3 separate regions of the Homo sapiens genome follow, and all the other regions are linked to region 1. Evidence: promoter capture Hi-C in human tissues and cell types (Jung and others, 2019). All regions are on one chromosome and are shown on one strand. Each heading gives the region's core, a stretch centred on a gene start or on the middle of the fragment in contact. The rest is flanking DNA. Distances are from core to core; before and after follow the strand shown.

The links. Contacts are between HindIII fragments. The study calls those that stand out against the background at their distance.
Region 2: the fragment with the promoter of PALB2 here is called in contact with the fragment with the promoter of USP31 in region 1 in 1 of the 25 tissues and cell types used here (H1 embryonic stem cells).
Region 3: a contact is called between a fragment that was not itself captured here and the fragment with the promoter of USP31 in region 1, in 1 of the 25 tissues and cell types used here (pancreas).

Annotation. Positions count from the first base shown.
Region 1 is chr16:23,147,642-23,151,370 of GRCh38, forward strand. It overlaps USP31 (ubiquitin specific peptidase 31), which reads right to left and starts at 1,811. Exons shown (of 16, transcript NM_020718.4): 1 at 997-1,811. The coding sequence starts at 1,629. RefSeq lists silencers at 952-1,181, 1,312-1,411, 1,512-1,561, 1,712-1,811 and an enhancer at 1,992-2,211. The HindIII fragment of the contact is 9,135 bases long and covers 1-3,729 here.
Region 2 is chr16:23,639,405-23,643,133 of GRCh38, forward strand. It overlaps PALB2 (partner and localizer of BRCA2), which reads right to left and starts at 1,906. Exons shown (of 13, transcript NM_024675.4): 1 at 1,706-1,906. The coding sequence starts at 1,753. DCTN5 (dynactin subunit 5) reads left to right here and starts at 2,062. Exons shown (of 6, transcript NM_032486.4): 1 at 2,062-2,186; 2 at 3,551-3,619. The coding sequence starts at 2,139. RefSeq lists a silencer at 973-1,207 and an enhancer at 2,335-3,124. The HindIII fragment of the contact is 21,224 bases long and covers 1-3,729 here.
Region 3 is chr16:23,467,090-23,470,818 of GRCh38, forward strand. It overlaps GGA2 (golgi associated, gamma adaptin ear containing, ARF binding protein 2), which reads right to left. Exons shown (of 17, transcript NM_015044.4): 15 at 2,907-3,076; 16 at 1,797-1,907; 17 at 1-611. The coding sequence ends at 501. Among named protein-coding and RNA genes, the nearest start is that of COG7, 16 kb to the left of the region's middle. The HindIII fragment of the contact is 3,947 bases long and covers 1-3,729 here.

The DNA of each region.
Region 1 (3,729 bases), core at 561-3,060:
ACCCCCAGGGATGTATAGCTCACCCCTGTAATCCCAGCACTTTGGGAGGCCAAAGCGGGGAGAGTGGCTTGAGGACAAGAGTTCAAGACCAGTCTGGGCAACACAGCAAAACCCCCGTCTCTACAAAAGTGTTTTAAAAATAAAAAATAGGTAGGTATGGTGGTGTGTGTCTGTAGTCCCAGCTATTAAATACTCTGGAAGGTGAGGCGGGAGGATTGCTTGAGCCCAGGAGTTTGAGGCTATGTGAGCACTGCACTCCAGCCTGGGCAACAGAGCAAGACCCTGTCTCTAAAAATAAAATAAAAATAAAAAGTAGCCTGTCAGCACATCAATCACAGCAGCAGGTTTTTCTTTCTTCAAACCACTATCTGATATTATCTCGTTAACTTCTTCAAGTCTTTAATAACAAAAATAATAGCAGCAAATACACATGATATGGAAGTATTTTACTTATCAGGTTGAACCCTATAAAAGTGCCAATCTGTAAATAAAAAACGGTTAAATATGGGTAATTCCACAGTGTTCGATTTAATATATTAACTTGTTTGCAGCTCACAACCACCTTACAAAGTAGGTCCCCCAGATGAAGAAACTGTAAGAACAGAGAGGCTGCTTAACTTACCCGACGTCACATTGCTAGTAAGTGGCAGAACCAGGATTTGAACCCATGCTCAACACTCCCACCCCACAAAAATGCAAGTTCCATGAAGGCGGATAGTCTTGTTCATTGCAACGTCACTCCCATTGCCTATTATCACAGAGTATGGGCACGTATGTAGTAAGTTCTCAATAAATACATGTTTGAGTGAGTGAGTGAGTGAATAAATGAATGAATGAATGAATCTCCTTAAAATCACTGGTCGACTGCCCAGACCACTCGGAGCAACCAATGCAGAAGCCTGCCGGGCCAAGAGGAACCGAGGGAAGGAAGACCTGGGCGGGCAGGTGCCCCAGGGGCTCGGGGTGCAGTGGGGGCGCGGCGGCGCGCGGGCTCACCTTGAAGTCGCGGCTGTGCTGCGGGGTGTACTCCAGGGTCCAGAGGGCCCGCACCAGGTGCGCCAGCTGCTCAGTGACCTCGCCCTGGCCCTGCGCGCCGCGGCCCGCAGGCTGCTCCGGGTCAGGCGAGGGCTCGGGCCGCCCCGCCCGGTACTGGCCCAGCGCCAGGTACTCGGCGAAGAGCTCGGTGTTGCTGAGGCACTGCAGCGTGGCGTTCATGAAGCACGTGTTGCCGTGGTTGCGGAGCCCCGCCACGCCGGGCACCGGCTCGGCGGCGCAAGCGGGCGGCGCGGGAGAGGCGGGCGGCGGCGGGCACGGCGGCGGCGTGGGCGCGGCGGCCGGCCCGGGCGGGAAGCAGCTGCGGAGGCCGCCGCGGTCTGGGGCGGCGCCCTCAGAGCTAAGGTGCGAGAGCGTGGACAGCGTCTTGAGAACGCGGCTCATGAAGCTGCCCACCGAGCGTGCAGAGGAGGGCGAGGAGGGCGAGGAAGGCGCGGCCGGCCCGGACGCCCCGGGGCCCCCCGCGCCGCCGCCGCCAGCGCGGCCGCTCCGAAACAGCCGCTTGCTGAAGGAGCGCTTCTCCTTCCCGCTCGCCGCCGCCGGCGGCCCGGACCCAGGCGCCGTTACCTTGGACATGGCGGCGGCCGCAGACACTCATCACCGCGCCCGCCCGCCCGGCCCGCGGCCCCGCCACGGCCGCCGCCGCATCCCGCAGCGCCGCGCCTCACCGGGCCCGGGGGCTCGACGCCCCACACACCTCAAAGCGCAGCCGAGCCAGCGAGCGAGCGGCGGCCGGCGGGGCCAGCGGGCGCGCGCGCGGTCCGCCCAGCTGAGCCGCTCACGTGACGTGCCTCCCGGCGCCGCCCGCCCGGCGCTGAAGCCGCCTCGGCCGCCATGTTCACTGTGGGACGGTAGCTGCCTCTCCAGCCGGACGCGATGCCTGGAGGCTGCGGGCGCGGTCCTGCTGCGTGAAGCCCGAGGGAGGCCATGTCTAGTGTGGGCGCCGTCCCGGCTTGGAGGAAAAGGCTGGGCTCCCGTTGGATGGTGGATCCCCGGGGTGGGTCTCTGTCTTTGCTGGTCAGATGGCAGAGGCGGGAACGTGCAGGAATCAGGATGCTGTCAGTTACCAGACCGTGCAAGAGCTGGTGGACATGGCCCTGACAGGTCCTGGGCAAGTCAGCCCTGTCTGGCTCCCAAGGGACGTTGCAGATACCTACCCTCTGGGTGCCAGCGGAGCGCAGTCACAGACCCTGGCACGTCCCAGCGGGCTTTTCTTCCTGGCTGCACCTTGGAGTCCCAGCGAAACGCTGTTATCATAACTACTTTCCTTTTCATTCCAGCCTTTAAAACTCCTCCGGGCTCTCCCATCATTCATCATTCCATTCATTCATTCACTCACTCATTCATTCAGCAGTTACTGGGGATATTGCAAAGAATTAAACCTATTAAATTAGAATCAAATGTCATATCCCCAGCGGATTAAATTAGCACGGTTTCTACCTGCCCTCTTGCAGCTTACATTCCTACTGGGTGTTTACAATAGCTGTTGTGTTCCACACATTATGCCAAGCATGCAATATTTTCTTTAATCTTTAATTCACCGTCTTTGAGATTGGTACAGTTCTTATCTGATTCAAACCCAAGTTTTATTTACAACCCCTATACTTGACCTCTAAACCAAAGGTCACGAATCCACAAATATCACAGGTCACAAACCCACAAATGAGTGAAGAATCCTGGTGTTTGAATCATCATATTGACTTTCAAGTGACTTGGGTCTCAGTGTTGGGGGAAATATAAGGAATGATGGGGACTATAGCAGACTTCAAATTAACATCTTTCTAAAGAGGTGGCTGCCACTCAGCTCCAGCCAGTTGTTCCCATGTGAGAACAGGAGCTCAGCGTTACCAGATCATCTGATGTTTTAAGAGAAGGCAGAAATCCTATTTTTAAACGTTGGTTCCATTAAAAAAAAAATAGTGCAGGGAGCAAAAAATAGTACATCTTTGGGATGCCTTTAGTCCAAAATCAACTAGTATATGACCTCCTCTCTATAGGCTCCCCTCTGCTAAAAGGGCTAGTCTGAGTCCTGAGGCAGAAGAGAGAAATCAGAGAAGGGAGAGCCCTTCCTCCTTTTTAAAACATGAAGGCCACCTTACACCACGTTTCAAAGTAAATGGTTTTTACCTTTGACCTCCCTCCCCAATGTAAGTAGGGCTCTATGATGACATCTCCAGGGTGCTCTGCACTGTCCCTAATCGGCTCCACTCTCCTCTTAGTCAAAATTCTTATCTGGACACCAGGAAGAAAGCCATCTGATTATTCACACTAAAATGTGAATGCAATGGCCCTCAACTTCTGGGCAGTTTGATCTAGACTCGAGGGCCTTTGCTGGAGCCGTTCCCTCTCCCTTGAACCTTTCCTTAGCTAACTTAGAACCTTTCTACTTAGCTAACTTCCCCTCATCCTTAAAGTCCCACCTTAGATATCACCCCCTCCAGGAGATGTCCCTTCCACAGGCCCTCTTGGCACCTCTCATTCATGACACTGACTTGACCATATTGCAATTCAGTTTACAATCATCACCTTCACTAATATGTGGGCTTCAACCCAGTAGAGACCCATCTTACTCATTATTCGGTACCCAGTAAGGTAGCCATTATATAACAGGTTGATTATTTGGCAACTTTATACCTAAACAATGTCGTGTGTGTGTGTGTGTGTGTGTGTGTGTGT
Region 2 (3,729 bases), core at 656-3,155, 490 kb after region 1:
TGCCTGTAGGAGGCTGAAGCAGGAGAATTGCTTGAACCCGGAGGCGGAGGTTGCAGTGGGCCTAGATCACGCCACTGCACTCCAGCCTGGGCAACAGAGCGAGACTCTGCTTGAAAAAAAAAAAAAAAAAAAAGGCCGGGTGCAGTGGCTCACACCTGTAATCCCAGCACTTTGGAAGGCCAAGGCGGGCAGATTACCTGAGGTCAGGAGTTCAAAACCAGCCTGGCCAACATGGAGAAACCCTGTCTCTACTAAAAATACAAAAATTAGCCCGGCGTGGTGTTGGGCGTCTGTAATCCCAACTACTCGGGAGGCTGAGGCAGGAGAATCGCTTGAACCTGAGAGGCGGAGGTTGCAGTGAGCCAAGATCGAGCCACTGCACTCCAGCCTGGGAGATAGAGCGGAGAGTCTGTCTCAAAAACAAACAAAACAAAACCTATGTGCAAAACATGCTACTAGACAAGTTGCCAACCGTAAGGAATTTTCTTTTTTTTTGAGAGACAGTCTCACTCTGTCGTCCAGCCTGGCGTGCAGTGGCGCGATCTCGGCAGCTCCCTGCAACCTCAGCGTCCCCTGGTTCAAGCGATTCTCGTGCATCAGCCTCTGAGGCCTGAGCCTCTGGGACTACAGGCTGGCGTCACCACACCCGGCTAATTTTTGTATTTTTAGTAGAGACGGGGTTTCACTACGTTGCCTAGGCTGGTCTCAAACTCTGAGCTCAAGCGATCTGCCCATCTCGGCCTCCCAAAGTGCGGGGATTACAGGCGTGAGCCAGGGAGACTGGCCTCCCACCAATCTTATCAATGTCTGGGGATTATCTTGTTTACTTATAAATGATCTTTCTCACCTCCACCAGAAGGTAAGCCAGGATAAGAATAACATCAGCACAAGCTGGAAACATCCTAAAAGTCTATCAGTAAAGTACAGTCTAAAGAAGCAAGGGCACTTCCAAGGCCAGGTGCAGTGGCGGGTTCGTGTAATCCCAGCTACTCGGGAGGCTGAGGCAGGAGAGTCGCTTGATCCCAGGAAGCGGAGGTTGCAGTGAGCCGAGATCGCGCCACTGCACCCCAGCATGGGTGGCAGAGTGAGACTCTGTCTCAAAAAAGAAGAAAAACAGAAAAGGAAGAAAAAAGAAACAAAACGAGGGCACTTCCAAACTACAACATACTGTCTAGAACTTAAAAAAGAAAGCAAGGTAGATAAACATGTCCTGACAGGAAAGCTAAACGGAACCTGCAGAACCATTCAGATCATACCATTTATGAACATTCCCTTCTCCAAAAAATATACATAGGATTCCTTTTTGGTGGTTAGGGATACGCCCCTCCTCCACCACCCACATTAACACACGAAAGGACCTGGAAGTACCAGACTTAAAAGATTTACTTGAGGCCGTCCGGGGGGAGAAGTAAAGATTGAGGGTGTGGGAGGGGGGAGGAGCAAGGGTGTCGATACAGCTTTATCTACAAACTGTTACACATTGTATTAATGCGCTGCTACTGTAATGAAATTTGTTCTTTAAACGCCACCACGTGAGCACCACGCTATTTCCACATTTTCATTTTCTGTGCCCCCTCAGCCCTAAGAGGAGGGGGTGGTCAGATGATACTGCTGCCCTCGGACTGCCGAGGACACAAAGCCAGGCCTAAAACCCTGGGAAAGCGGGGTCAGAGTCCTGCGTCCGCCCTTCCCGCACCCCCGGCACCTTTTCCTTCTCCTCACAGCTGAGGGGCTTCCCGGGAGGCTCGTCCATCGGGCAGGCGACAGAACGAAAAGAGCAGCCGTCGCCGACCCCAGGCCTGCCGACACCGGGACCCAGTTGGCCCTGGGCCGGGGAGGCGCCCCAGGAAGGAATGGGGAGCCCGGGATCGCACCCTCAGTGCGCGATCAGCTGACCCACGCGGGCCAAGCGCGCCCTAAACTCCGGCCAATTAAATCCACCATTCGGCCTGCGCACGCGCAGCCGTAGACGGCCGAGCAGTGGAGCGAGGCCGCCTAAAGGAGAGCCGCGCTGTCGATGAGTCCCAGTGGGCCACCTGGAGCGGAAGTGGAGGAGCGGCCGGAAGTAGCCGGAATCTCTGAAAGACTGACCGACTGACTCTGACAGGATCCGGGGCTGAGGGAAGGAGGCGGCGGCCATGGAGTTGGGCGAGCTGCTCTACAACAAGTCTGAGTACATCGAGACGGTGCGCGGGTCCAGATATGTATCCTCCTCTTTCCAACCCTGCGTCCCTTTGAGGCCTGGTCGGCGTTCCCAACCTGCCCCTACCCCACCAACCCCTGTCCCTTTGGCCATTAGTCCCGGATTATCTAGCGATGCCCCGTGTACCGTCTGGCTTTGCTGTTTACTCCGCGCTTGGCCAGTTGAGGCCTTTTGTATTTATTCCTGATTTTCTCATAGGGGTAAAGTGCCTTCGGGAGGATAGGACAAGTCCCATCCTGTTCATACGAATTACAGCTCGGACTTCGGGCCCTTTTACACTGCCTTTTGTATCTGTTAACTTGCGCTAAAAACGATTCGGTTCTTTTTTTTTGAGGAAGGGGGTTGGGGGGCGGAGACTCTGTCGCCCAGTCCTGAGGGCCGCGGCGCGATCTCTGCTCACTGCAACCTCCGCCTCCCGGGTTCAAGCGATTCTCCTGCCTCAGCGTCTCGAGTAGCTGGGATTACAGGCGCCCGCCACCACGCCCGGCTAATTTTTGTATTTTTTGGTAGAGACGGGGTTTCACCGTGTTGGCCAGGCAGGTCCCTAACTCTTGACCTCAGGTGATCGACCCGCCTCGGCCTCCCAAAGTGCTGGCATTACAGGCGTGAGCCACCGCACCCTGCCGATTTGGTTCTTTATGATCAGTACATGATATGTTTGTAAAATCTTGGAAACAGGGCAAGTGGTCAATTAACGTTACTATCGTTATTTTGGTTTTCTTTGCTTTCTCACAACTCTGATACTCATAGTCATTATCCTCGTTTTAAGGCCGTAAAGCCCACGCGTGGAAGTGGGATTTGAATCCGCGTCTGTCTGATGCCACCAAGCTATAGACATTCAAATTATGAGTTTATTCCTTGAGTCCCTAGTTTCCTTTGTGTTTTTATTTTTTGAGACAGGTTCTCACTCTGTTGCCCAGGCTGGAGTGCAGTGGCACAATCACAGCTCATTGCAGCCTCGGCCTTCCAGGCTCAAGCGATCCTCTAGCCTCAGCCTTCTGAGGAGCTGGGACTACAGACACGCGCCACCATGCCCGGCTAATTAAAAAATTTTTTTTTTGTTGAGAAGGGGTCTCACTATGTTGCCTAGGCTGGTCTTGAGCTCCTGTCCTCAAGGGATCCGTCTGCCTCAGCCTCTCAAAGTGCTGAGATTACAGGCATGAGCCACCATACTCAGCCATAGTTTCCTAATCCATCATTGCTTTTTTGATATCCTGGACTCACTCCATTGTGGACAGCACCCCACTTTATGTTTTTTTCTCTCAAATGGGAGCTTTCTTGATGGAAACCTGTAGTCCAGAAACCTATTAAGTTTGCTTTCCCCGGTTTTCCGTTGTTTTCTTTTAGGCATCTGGGAACAAAGTCAGTCGCCAGTCAGTGTTGTGTGGAAGCCAGAACATCGTTCTCAATGGCAAGGTAAGGGACAAAGCCAGCTCCAGGCTGCAAACCTTAGCTTGCGTTCTGCTAATTGTCACCACAGCAGGGCAGATAAAATGTTGCCATATCTCCTATTTATTGTTTACATT
Region 3 (3,729 bases), core at 650-3,149, 320 kb after region 1:
GTGCCCAAGTAGATACTCTCTGCCCCAAGACTAACCAGGTCCCTTTTAAGGTCCCTGAGAACAGCAGCCTGGGAGCAACCAAGCCTTTCAAAGGCTGACAAGGCACAGAGTGGATGAATGGAACGAACGATACATGAAAAAAACACTTTGGCTGATAAAACCTCCAACCTGAGGCAGGGACAGTGTCGCTCGCTGACATGCAGAAACATGACTGTAGCAGAGATGATGATGATGAGAAATGCTTCGCATTTCCCACACTGCCGATATCCCAAGCCCTGTGCTACCACCCTCTCCCCGAACACACACACACACACACACACACACACACACACACACACACACACAGAGCATCTGCAGAATAAGTCAGAGGTTGACACCCAGAGCCTGACGTCAGGATAGGACTCTTGGCACTCCGCACTGAAACACCGTGATTAGTCCTGACTAGACAGCAAAAGTAACGCCAGCCTAAGCTTGAAATGAAGGGTCCATCTTGTGAAAAGTTAGGCTGCGCCCAAGACAGCCAGGTCTGGGAAGTCTTTCACTTCTCCTACTTCGCTGAAAGGCTGTCCACCTTGGTTGAATGTCAGCTTGTACCGTAAGCGGATAGGTTCCTGGGACAGAAGAGACAGAAGATGTCAAATCAGTGGAGAGCAACCCAGGAACAGGGGTCAATGTTAAGTCAAGTGAGTGTTTCAAACAATTCTGACACAAAATACCTGGGATACTCTCTTTGGGACTACAAACAAGGGGAAACAGGCACATATCCTGGGAACCCTTCGATAATTCTGCAGTCCTGAAATCCTGAGATGGGCTGCAATTCAGAGACCAGCTAAGGAAGACAGACCTTGTCCTTTCAGAGGACTCCAGAGGATTAGGGAGAGTTCATGTGTCCCTCCCTTGGTCCCCAGCTATGACAATCCATCTGATCTTCCTTCAGTGAGCCCCAAAGACAGACTCCAGCGAGGGATATTCCACATATACCCCTAACACCCAACCAAACCAGAGACTGACTTTCTTTTCTTTTTCTCTTCTCCTTCCTTCCTTTCCTCCTTCCCTCCCTCTCTCTCTCTTTCATCTATCTGTCTGTCTGTCTATCTATCTATCTATTTGATAGAGTCTCGCTCTGTCACCAGGCTGGAGTGCAGTGGTGCGATCTTGGCTCACTGCAACCTCCGCCTCTTGGGTTCAAGCAATTCTCCTGCCTCACTCTCCCGAGTAGCTGAGACTACAGGCGCACGCCACCATGCCCAGCTAATTTTTGTATTTTTAGTAGAGATGGGGTTTCACCATGTTGGCCAGGATGGTCTCGATCGCTTGATCTCGTGATCCATCTGCCTCAGCCTCCCAAAGTGCTGGGATTACAGGCGTGAGCCACTGCACCTGGCCGACTTTATTTTTTTTTGAGATGGAGTCTTGCTCTGTTGCCCAGGCTGGAGTGCAGTAGTGCGATCTCGGCTCACTGCAACCTCCACCTCCTGGGTTCAAGCAATTCTCCTGCCTCAGCCTCCTGAGCAGCTAGGACTAAAGGTGCGTGCCCCCACAACCAGCTAATTTTTGTATTTTTAGTAGAGATGGGGTTTCACCATGTTGGCCAGGCTGGTCTCAAACTCCTGACCTCAGGTGGTCCACCTGCCTCAGCCTCCCAAAGTGCTGGGATTACAGGGGTGAACCACTGTGCCCAGCAAACCAGAGACTTTAGAGCAAGGCCTCAATGTGCCTCTCTCTACCCACAAAGTTACCTCCCCTTACAGTTCAGGGGCCCCCATCTCCCTGCTACCACAGACACTGGAACATACTTTGTGTGGATTGTCAAGCAGCAGCATCTGAGATATCACAGCTGGAGGCATCAAAGGACTGAATGCAGGAAGCTTGGAGCTGGATGCCGGCTGCAGCTTCACTCTCATTGACTATCAGGGGAAGAAAACCAACATGTAACTCATTCCTAACCACAGCTTCTAGGATGGAGATCAGGTGAGGGGGAGCTGGACCTCCCCAACACCCCTCCAAGAGGAAATGGCCCTCTTAAACGTGGTACCCCGAGGCACCTATGGGAGCCCAAGCAGACAGACTCCCACTAATTGATAAAAGGATCTAAGAGGCCTTTCCTTCCACACACAGAATGGATCGGGAGTTGTGTGGTCAATAACCGGCATCTGAGACGCAGCATCAACAGCCAGGGCACATCTTGGGTTGAATTCTAACTGCTTCTCACTAGCTCTGTGACCTTGAGTAAAATATTTAATTTCTGAGCCTTGGGTTAACTTATAAAACAGAGGTAGTAGCAGAACATTGCCCATAGGACTACCGTAAGAAGTAGAGACTGCAGGTCATATTTTTGTCTGTCTCGAATCTTTTCCTTTCAGGACAGGCCCCTTCCCCTGTGACTGTGGGGTGCCTGTTAATCAGTAGGGCCCCACTTCCCTTGAAAAGGGATGGATGTTATCTCACATTGGCCAAGTGTCTCATATCCCAGGATACAAGTTCCTGGTCCAAGGTATGGAAGTAACACCAACAAGCCCAATCAGAGCCCTTTCCTGGGTAATCAATATATGTGCTTCATGCCCGGTGAGAGTTTCTGAGATAAAGAGGGTTAAGGACCATGCAACCCTGGAGCTGTGGGTAGCCACTTTCCTGTTTGTGGAGAAACTGTCAGAATGGTGCCAAAGAAAAGCAGAGTCAAGAGATACAGATTCTTAAGGCATTGTTTAAGAACCTATTTGGATTCACTCATATCTGAAGTCAGATATTCAGGAATCCCCAGTCAGGTAAGCCATTACATTCCCACTTTATCTTCAGTTAGTTTGAGTGAAGATTCTTTCCTTGACACTCGACAGGTAAGTCCCAGAAAAGAACCTGGCACTCAAAAACGACAGCCATTACTGAGAAATCCCCAACAGATGACTCACCTTTGGCACAGCCACTTGAAACATGATATCCCAGACAGGCTGGGGAGCCGTGCTCATCATGGTCAAGAGCAGCACCTGTACCTCTGGGTGCCCAGGGGCTCCCGTCTGGGAGAAGTGGAGCAGAATTCTGAATCCATTCCGGTCATACACAATGAGAGGCGGCAGGCTGCCTGGTATAAAGGGCACAAGCAGAAGGTTTAACACCACTACAAACCCCCCGGACAGCCAGGCTGGAAAGAGATGTACATGTTATCCCCAGATGCTGTTGCTTCTCCATGCAGAACATGTCCAGGACTGAATTCCTCTGCACTACCATAATCCAAGTCCTCATGACTCTAGCTGGACTCCTATGACCCTCCAAACTGACCTTTCCCCACCATCCAACCATCATACACACACCACCAGTTATTAAAAATCACATTTTTGAGGAAGATACGATCATTATTAAAATAATGCATGAACACTATAGAAAATAGAGAATTATCAGCCAGGCGTGGGGGCTCACGCCTGTAATCCCAGCACTTTAGGAGGCCAAGGCGGGTGGATCACTTGAGGTTAAGAGTTCAAGACCAGCCTGGACAACATGGCAAAACCCCATCTCTACTAAAAATACAAAAATTAGCTGGGCATGGTGGTACACACCTGTAATCCCAGCCATTTGAGAGGCTGAGGCACGAAAATCACTTGAACTCGGGAGGCGGAGGTTGCAATGAACTGCACTCCAGCCTAAGTGACAGAGCGAGACTCTGTCTCAAACAAACAAACAAACAAAAAACAAAAAGCCACACACACACAAAAACAGGATTATCATTAAAAAATGAAA